Linked DNA regions of Homo sapiens: region 1 is linked to region 2. Evidence: promoter capture Hi-C in 16 types of primary human blood cells and fetal thymus (Javierre and others, 2016). All regions are on one chromosome and are shown on one strand. Each heading gives the region's core, a stretch centred on a gene start or on the middle of the fragment in contact. The rest is flanking DNA. Distances are from core to core; before and after follow the strand shown.

What was found. Contacts are between HindIII fragments. The CHiCAGO score rates a contact against its expected background, and 5 or more counts as called.
Region 1: a fragment that was not itself captured here is called in contact with the fragment with the promoter of RSPO2 in region 2 in 1 of 17 cell types (M0 macrophages); the score reaches 6.2 in M0 macrophages.

Annotation. Positions count from the first base shown.
Region 1 is chr8:108,666,985-108,672,208 of GRCh38, reverse strand. It overlaps a transcript of TMEM74 not described here and the pseudogene LOC124902049. Among named protein-coding and RNA genes, the nearest start is that of TMEM74, 120 kb to the left of the region's middle. The HindIII fragment of the contact is 521 bases long and covers 2,791-3,311 here.
Region 2 is chr8:108,082,318-108,087,083 of GRCh38, reverse strand. RSPO2 (R-spondin 2) reads left to right here and starts at 3,464. Exons shown (of 6, transcript NM_178565.5): 1 at 3,464-3,887; 2 at 4,277-4,539. The coding sequence starts at 4,446. RefSeq lists a silencer at 4,433-4,608 and an enhancer at 4,325-4,766. The HindIII fragment of the contact is 4,613 bases long and covers 1,954-4,766 here.

The DNA.
Region 1 (5,224 bases), core at 1,802-4,301, 590 kb before region 2:
CAGAAGGATCCATGTACTAGCACTGCCTTAGCTTTGCTTGGCTTCAGTTACACAAACTAACCACACTCAGTTGGACGGCAACTGCCGTAGCCGTGTGCCTGCCCGCTCCAAATTCATGAGTGGAGTTTTTCCACCCACAGTGTCAGGTACAAGATCTGAAATAAGGATTAAATTCTCTAGTACAAATAAGGGGAAAATTTAAATGAAATAATACTTGTGCTAAGCTTAAGTTATACCCAACTGCTCCCCATACAGAATAATACTAAAAGCAGGCAGGTTTTCAATTGATTAATCACTGTCATCCTGGCACTAGGCTAACTTCCTTACATATATTATCTCATTTAACACTTTACCTTTTATGGAAGGCAATATGGAATTCATCTATAGAGTAATTTATCAAATTCTTAACTGCTTGAATATATTTCTCTCTTACTTTTTTTCAATCATAGTTTGTTTTAATCTAGTTGAGCTGTTGGTCCTCCCCTCCATTTGTGGTCCCTGAGGGCTGTCAACTCCCTGTTGCCATGAAATACCAATTACATACTTCCAGACCACTAATCTCTCTCCACCCCACCAGCTTTCCTGCTCCTGACCACAGAGTGACAACATCAGCTGCACCATGCCACGGAAAACAGGACTCAACATTTTCGGAGAACCAACTCAGCTAAGAGAGCTTCCTGAGTTGTGAAAACCCTCTTAACACATCAATATTGCATGAACCTTAATGTCACCTGCTTTTCTTTTGGGCACAGGGGTCATTAGCCATGTGAACATCTTCAGTCCAACCACAAACAGAAACAGGACAGTTGCTTTTGCCCCAGGGGGCCTTCTAACCTTGGCAAGAGGGTGGTACAGCTCCATGGGCAATGTGGCAAAGTGAAAATCCTGTTGTCTTGCCACATAGAAAACCAAGATATTGTGGGAGCTTGAGCTAGTATTTAACTTTTTGGCTCTATTCTAAGCCAAATTGGAGGTGCCTTATAAAAACAGTTGGATAACTCCTAGTCAAACACTAAAGAAAATATTTCCAAGAGTGAGCACTGGCCATCACCAGTCCCTACCTATAGTTTAGGTGATGTATTTTGCAACTGCATTCAACCAAGTTTTGTATGAACCCTCATCAGGTCTCAGCGTTCTTCCCTGATTCAAAAACCACTGAGAGGACTAATGAAACTGTATTTTTCCAACTGTATACTCACTTTCAAAACATCATATCACTAAGCATAGGTATGATATTCTCAACTTCTTCTCTAGTGTGCCTTTTTATTATTAATGAGCACAATTGGTCATTCTTGGAACTTTGATTCGCTCTTATGGGGATTTTGGAGTTTAAAACAGAACATAAAGGTTTATAAATCAATTACTTTCTGATTATTTTCTTTTTTCTTTTTGTGGTTTCCTTCTTTTTCTTTAACCTAAAATTCATTGCTGGGTCCTAATATTACGGTGAACATGGGATGAAAATAGATTCTGGTAACATGTTACAAACCGCCAAATTCATCCATCTTTCATGTTTTTCTGTATCCTGACTTTCCACAAAGATGTCGTATATAACTATTTTCAAGGCTTCTTAATCTGTTTCTGAAGAGCCAGTTTTATTAAAGATCTTGTGGGGAGTTGAGAAGCAAGTAAAGAAAGTATCAAAATAAATCACTACTCTCTTCATTTGTTTTTATAATGGGGAAGTGACATCATATGGTGCATTAAGACTCAGCCACAACCACACAGCACTGCAGTATATGGGAGACTCAGTATCAAAATTCCATCGATGATCTAAAGCTCTCACATACTGTGATACACAACACATGATACTGGATTAAACTAAGACACTCCTTTCTTTCCAAAGACATTGCAGGGCAAATCATTCCCTAAGCAGGTGGTGCTTCTGACCCAATGCCTACTCAATGTTCTGAAGTAAAAATATTGAACACAGCACTAGAATTGGCTATTTGTTCATAGGGGAACTGAAACTGGAATAAATCATGTACACTTTTTATTATGAAATAAAGAAAGGACTTTTGACAGCAGATCAAATAATTTATCCAGATTCAGAGTGAACATTTTATTTATACTTCTACTATACTATGAATAGTTTTCCTGAGTACAGAAAAAAAATGAATATAAAGAAAAGGAATTAAGCCATTCATTGCCTTTTTTTTTTTTTTTTTTTTTTCACAGAATCTTACTCTGTCATCCAGGCTAGAGTGCAGTGGTGCAATCTCGGCTCACTGTAACCTCTGCCTCCCGAGTTCAAGTGATTCTCTTGCCTCAGCCTCCCCCATACCTGGGATTACAGGCATGCATCACCATGCCTGGCTAAGTTTTGTAGTTTTAGTAGAGATGGGGTTTCACCATCTTGACCAGGCTGGTCTCGAACTCCTGACCTTAGGTGATCCGCCCACCTCAGCCTCCCAAAGTGCTGGGATTACTGGCGTGAGCCACCATGCCTGGCCCCATGCACTACTTCTGAAGAATGCTGTATTCTCTCATTCTGGAGATGATTGTCACTTCCCTCTGATTTGTGACTGTCAATGATAAACTGACAATGGAAATAGTCAAGTATATAAACTTTCCTCTGCTTTCAAAAATCTTACTTAAAATCTTATTAAAATTTGAAAACAAAGCTAATATCTTATTGTTCTAATCAGAATCTGCTCAGAGTCACCAGTTATTTCCACTTACTACCAAGAATTGAAGGATATGATTTTCTTCTACTCCTTACAGCATATATGCAAATATCACCAGCCCAAATTTTCTCTGCATTTCAGCCCAGAATAGAAGGTGAAAGCTTTGGGCTCAGTAAATGTTTTAAATGACTAAAAGGGCCACTAATGATGACCTTTTCATTGTAACGTGCTCGGCAGGATAACTTGTGTGTGTCCTCCTTATATCCGCTCCTTCTTGAGCAGGCTGCAACCCCAGCCTCAGCGACTTTGGCAAAGTCTTAGGCAGAAAGAAAGAAAATAATGCTTTGAGGGTCAGGAAGTCAGGCAGAAAGGAGAAGTTACGTATTTGATAAACTGAAACATAACCTGAAAAACGAGAGAGATCTATAAGTCCCCTAAGTATTGCCTGCATATGCTCTAACAGCAACCTAAGAAAGTGGCAAGACTTCAAAGGGGGAATGGTTGAGTAGGGTGTGTAAGGAGCCAAGATCTCAGGCACCAAGATTCCCTGGTCATAAAAATCTTCTGTGCCCAAGTGCAGCACAGAAACAGCAGAACTTCAGACTAAATTACAATGTAAACTGGATTAATGTTGTAACTGCAGTTCAACTGTGGCAGACTACTGACCGATTATCTGAATAAGCTTCTCCAATGCTTTAGGACCAAGCAGAAACACAAAGTTCTGGAGGACGGGAAAAAACAGTCATACCAATGATGAAATTTGGAGTCTCAAGATTGACAAAAAAGTTTTTAATGTGATATTTTTTGTATAAATATGTTTATTTTGCTTTGATAAGAGTCAAACTTCCCCGATATATCAGGTGCTGTTAACATAACAAAAACCCAGTACCCAACTATGTATTCTTGAAAGTCAGAAAAACTGGTTTCTTTCCTTGCTTCTACCTTGGGTGTGTGCTTTGACCTTAAAATAAGTCACTGAAGTGTGCTCAGCTTCAGGTTCCTTATCCTTAAAATGGGAATAAGTGTAGCTGTCAGGCTTATCTCACAGGGCCAGTAGACACAGAATTACCAATAGTAGTAGTAGTACCAGAGTTAGAGCTGGTGCTATTGTTGCTGTTGTGGCTTATTTTGTTATGACATGTCATGAAAATGGTATAACTTCCCTAATAACATTAACCAATGACTATTATTAATACAATAACTGATAAACAACATAGTTTCTCTAGCTGGAAAAGGTAAATGTTGCAGATAATATAAATGTGCCTTTATATATTAACTTATGTTTTGATAAATGTATTAAGCCATAACTAGAAATCAGCTTTGAGGTTATATTTCTAAAAGAGGGATAATTATAAAAAGCTCTTTGAAAAATCACTTATTAAATTTATGAACATACTGAGGAGATGGCTGGTTGATTTTTTATCCTGTGAGTAATATTCAAATATGGGTAGTTTGCCTTTTAAAGGACATTCCAATAACCAAATTTTAGTGGCAAACTGATTTGAAATAGAGCATGGTATCTTAGCCAAGCAATATTTTTGCTTTAAGTCAGGGAAACAAGAGCTGTAGAACCAGGAAATGTGGAGGAGCATGGAAAATATTTAATCAAGAGTTATTCCACTACAGGAAAATCACTGGTGTCCATAAAATGAAGCAGATGACAGCATTGTTCTGCTTCTTAGTATTATGGGAGGAGGTACTAGGCGTTCAATTTCGTTCATTTAAAGAGGGGAAAGAACAGAGAGCAGAATGCTGAAATCTGGCAGGGGATGGGGCTGGGAGGGTGTAGGTAGGCAGTAGGGAGAGGTGTGGAATCTACATAACATTCCAAAGATGAATTAGAGCTAGGAATTCTACTTTTATAAACTATGCAGACAAAGGAGAAATGATGAATGAGACCATTAAAAAATATCTAAGGGATCTGAATTTTACCAGTCTATAATTTGCAAAACCTTGAAATTCCCTTTATCATAACTATATTATCATGGAAAATCCTGAAGTCAGTAAGTAGTTCCTACTACCCAACTAATAAGTTACCTATTACAACAATAATCCAGAAATCTATATTTAAATGTAGCAGTGAAACGCTTCCATTATCTTTGGAGTTTTTATTTCCTATTAGTGAAAAAGAGTGACTCATCAAAAATTACTCAGTAACTGATGATCATTCTAATTAAAATCTAAAGGTAGCATTTGTATTGTTTAATTCACATGCATTATCATATGACGGGAAAATACATCATTTTACTATAATATTCTATCTTGACCAAAAACACTTAACAATCTTATGTTCATTTTTTCTGCTTCCCTGAGATATTGGTCAGTCTTATGTGCCTACTCACAAAAGTGGAATAACCACTTGTTACACAACTGGGACTCATACTCAGCATACCAGGACAAGAGTCTGTTTTTAATCTAGATCAACGAGATTACAGCCACTGTGACCCTGGCCACTTCGAAAAGCACATAGATTCTTTTCATTGCACACACACACAAATCAATCTATGTTGGGAAATTAGACCTCTCCTTGCAACTATCATTCTGAGAAATAGGCATTGTTTCTGTGGGAGAGCAGGATGAACCTAACTATTTTAAAT
Region 2 (4,766 bases), core at 2,215-4,714:
GGAAAGGTAAAATGACACATGAAAAAGTTAATTGAAGCATTGCTTAAGATACAAAAAGTATGAAAACAATCTAAATGTATATTGATAGGGAGGCTGGCTAAATACAGCCATACGATGAAATAATATGTGACTATATAAAAAGAACAGGACAGTTCTCTATGAACTGATGCCATGGTGGCTCACGCCTGTAATCTCAGCACTTTGGGAGGCCGAGGCAGGCGGATCACGAAGTCCGGAGATCAAGACCATCCTGGCTAAAACGGTGAAACCCTGTCTCTGCTAAAAATACAAAAAGTAGCTGGGTGTGGTCGCATGTGCCTGTAATCCCAGCTATTCGTGAGGCTGAGGCAGGAGAATCGCTTGAACCAGGGAGTCGGAGGTTCCAGTGAGCCCGGATCGTACCACTGCACTCCAGCCTGGCGACAGAACAAGACTCCATCTCAAAAAAAAAAAAAAAAAACAACCCCTCAAGGTACAGATTAGTGAATACAGTATTCTACTAATTGCATAAAAGAGAGGAAGAATATATTATAAAACAGAGAAGGAAGAATGTATTATATATATGTATACGCACATATTATATGTATGCCTATATATGTGCATGTACATATATATAATACATTCTTCCTTCTTTCCTTGCTTGATAAGCAAAAAGATTATCAAGTTACTTGTTTGATAAGCACCAAACATCTTCTGAAGTATACCAAAAACCGTGAACACTTGTAAAAGAATAACTGATTGACTCTAAGGAGAACTGGATGCCTGAGAGAAGGAGGTAGGAGAGACTTTGCCCTGTTATGGTGTTTTGTAAGGATTGAATTTTGAGCTGTATGAACGAATTACAAGTCAAAAAATAAAATACAGAAGTTATCTCCTCTCTATAACATCATCCCCCACTTCTGCCCTCAGTTAACTTTCCCTATCACCAATGAGTGGTATAGAGTCAACCTCCTCAGTATATCAGTATACTTCTCTGTAAACAGAACCCAGGCACAAGTCTATTTACAAAGCCAGTTTAATGAAACCACTATATAAACTCAGTTTGAAGAAAAAGTCCATTGAGTCTCCAAGATGGAGAAACTGTGAGCTGTGAGCCTCAACAACACCACATTCTGAGTTTAGAAATGAAAGGAAGCAGAGATATGGGATTAAAGTTAATGATAGTCTAGGATCCATTAGGGTTGTATTTTTTAGTAGCAAGAACATTCCTGGGATTTTGAAGTCAGGAAAAATATTCAGTGAATGTAAAAAAAAAAAATTCTGCATTATCAACAAATTAGCCCCAAAGTGATTAAGTGTGAGACTCCAAGTACCCCAAGAACTAAGTCTGACAGAGTTTTAAGGTTCACTGGTGTCTTTTAAGAGGCAGAGATAGACCAGGAGGGAGCAAAAGAAGGAATTAAGAATTTTCCTTTCTTCCAGAGCCTATTCTTTTCTTACTAAACACATTAACCAATTTTCTACAGAAGTGGTACTGTCAAAATTCTTCCTCATGAACTGAATCTGGGGGTTCACTAAACTGAAAAGCATCTCTGGCTAAAAATGCACCAACTGTACAACACAAAAGATTAAAATTAAAATTATGGAAAGTTGTCTTTGAAGGGATAAGGGTGAAGTGGTCTGTAAATTTAACTAAGGAAGGCAGTGGCTAACCCTCTTCTTTCTACACAAAGAACCCATCACTGATGAGTTTGCCCTTACACTGGTTAGATACCATAGCAAACTTCCTAGTACAAATAGAAAATTGATTGTAAACCAGAACATGTAGAAGTGAAAGAGACCTTGGACAGACTTCCTAAAAATACTGCCAAGGAAACTGAGACCAAGAAAATTGCCCAAAGTGACGCAGGTGATTAATGGTAGCGCTACCTCTGCTTGGTCTTGTGTTTACTTTTGCCTTTAAATATTTTAAAAGACACTGATGACCACTGATCTTGAATGGATCTCAAAGCTTTGCAAGGAGGCAGGGGGGCTTACTTAGGGAAGACTTCCTTTCTCCCATAGATTTAACTCCTTTATAAGTATAATTCATTTGTTGTGTGCATATATGACTATATTTGGAAAGAAGTAGTATTTATGGTGCTGAAGAGATATTCAGCATCATATCAAGATGATCAAGAAATATCAAGTTATGCCAAACACTGGGGCCACTCCCTACACTGAAATGTTTCCAAATTCTGTGATAAAAATCAAAGGCTCAAAAGTCAAGAAACAGATCCACTGTTTCTGCAATGTGTTTTGTGAACTCTATTTGTGCCCTGTGGGCCAGTCTCAGTGATGGATTTTCTTATCTATGAAATGGGACCAATGACCTCAACTCAGATTTACTTGGGTGTTCTCAGGCATGCATCAAAGGCATACTGCTGAAATTCTTAGCACATAAATACCACTATGTAATAGTGAGTCTGTAAAATAGTTATGAATAGGCAATAATGGAATAGTTAATAAATATGAGTATTGCAATATTCTTTTTATATGATTGTCTTTTAAGTCATCAAATTTCTGAACATCTTCTGAAACTGAAGGAATAGAAAAGGGAATTTAAATAGTATAAAATGCTATCATAATAATATGGTAACTGCGGGCATATCTATAGACATTCATACTGCCACGGTTAGTGGCATAAATTCTTATCTTTTGCTTAAGGAATAAATACATTTTTTCCTACAGTAGTGAATGCAGGACAGATTTCACCAGAATGAAATTGGATGGCATCAAGTCTATTTAATGTAACACTTTGTTAAACAGAATATTTTCCCCAAACCCAAAGCACCTAAAAGTTTAATTCAGGAGACTTTGGAAATGAGAGGAGGATTAAGAATGAAAAATACTTTAGTGGGAAGTGAACTTTTTAAAATTATTTTTAAAGAATCAAGGCCCCAACTTCTTCAGCACTTCAGGCAACGGATCACAGGTTTTTGTTTTATTGGAGAAGAAACAAAGTAAATAACAGTTCTGAGGATGAACAAAAGCTGTTGGGAATACCCATTTCACTCCTCAAAGTGGGGGCGCGTTTTATGAATAATTTCAGCCGGCTAACATACCTTCCTGCAAAACACAGACAAGATGTAAATTAAAAAGTGGCAGAGTTGTGGCATATTGCAAAAGTTTAAAGGGAGTCATCAGTCCTTCAGTCAGATCTCCCTGCAGAAAGGTTGGCGCTGAGGTTGGAACTGACCCTAGAGGGCTGGAGAGGACCCCTTGGGGGTGAGCAGCCGGGTTCTGGGACCCAGCAAGGTCAGGGGGCGTCTCCCCAGCTACTCTTTATCTATCCCCCGCACTCTGGAAAGCCCGAAGAGGATTCGCTCCAAGTTAGGCGCGCTGTTGGCTGTCAACGTTCTTTAGGACCTCAGGGAAACCGGGACGTTTCTGGCTTTAGGACCCAGGAACTCCGAGGCAGCCTAGACTTAGATGCCTTGGACCACAGCACCACCTACTTATAGAAGCATCCCAAGCCTCAGCCGGTCTGCATCTCCATCGGAAAGTGCGCTTGCCACATCCCTTCGGATCACTTCGTCCTCCCGAGAGCGTTCTGCCTTCTACAGCTCGGAAAGAAAGAAATCTTAGCTGTGAAGTGACCGTGGAGAAAGCGCAGGAAGCGACACAATTGGTTAGGGAGGCAGAGAGTGTGAGCGGGCGCACCCCTTGCCTGGGGACCGCGCTCGCGGGCGGGGACGGAGCATCCCAGTGGCTGCACCCGCCGCTCCGCGCTCCTGCCTGGCGTCGCCAACCCCGCGGCGGCCGCTGGAATTCCAGAGCTGCCAGGCGCTCCCAGCCGGTCTCGGCAAACTTTTCCCCAGCCCACGTGCTAACCAAGCGGCTCGCTTCCCGAGCCCGGGATGGAGCACCGCGCCTAGGGAGGCCGCGCCGCCCGAGACGTGCGCACGGTAGGCAACCCACACCAAGGCAGCCGCAGCTGCGGCGCTTGGGTACACCGCCGTGGACTCCAAATGGCCTAAGAGCGTTCTTTTAGCCCTGCGCTCTCAGTGCCTTTAGAGTTCTTTCCTTTCCCCGGAGCGCCGGCACAACGCATTATGCCGCTGGGTCGGAGCTTAGGGCTCGGCAGAGGTTGCTAATTCACTGATTATAATCACCTTCCTCTCCAACTCGTCCGCAGCTGCCCGCTCTGGATTAAGCCGCTCCGCGGCTCGTGCTAGGCAGTGGGTTCGCTTCCTCCTTCCCTCTCTTCTTTAAATTGGGACGTGCGAAGGCGCAGCTGCCTCCCCGGGGCTCTCTCCATCCCCCACACACCCTGTTTTCGCTTCTTGTCTCTCAGGTTCGTGGCGGAGAGATGCTGATCGCGCTGAACTGACCGGTGCGGCCCGGGGGTGAGTGGCGAGTCTCCCTCTGAGTCCTCCCCAGCAGCGCGGCCGGCGCCGGCTCTTTGGGCGAACCCTCCAGTTCCTAGACTTTGAGAGGCGTCTCTCCCCCGCCCGACCGCCCAGATGCAGTTTCGCCTTTTCTCCTTTGCCCTCATCATTCTGAACTGCATGGATTACAGCCACTGCCAAGGCAACCGATGGAGACGCAGTAAGCGAGGTGGGTCCCTCTCTGCCAAAGGTGCGTGGTGGGCTTCAGGGGTGGCGTGTGGAGGCGCTCACTCACGCCCTGGCTCCGGGGGCTCAGATGGTCAGGGCTGTGCTCTCCACCCCAGCTTTTGCGGGTCCCCAGTCCCCACCTTTAGGACCCTGGAGCTCTACAAAACACTCTGTTTTCTGTACCCTGGAGGCGCGGGGAGCCGGAGCGAGACGCGCTGGGAGCTCGGC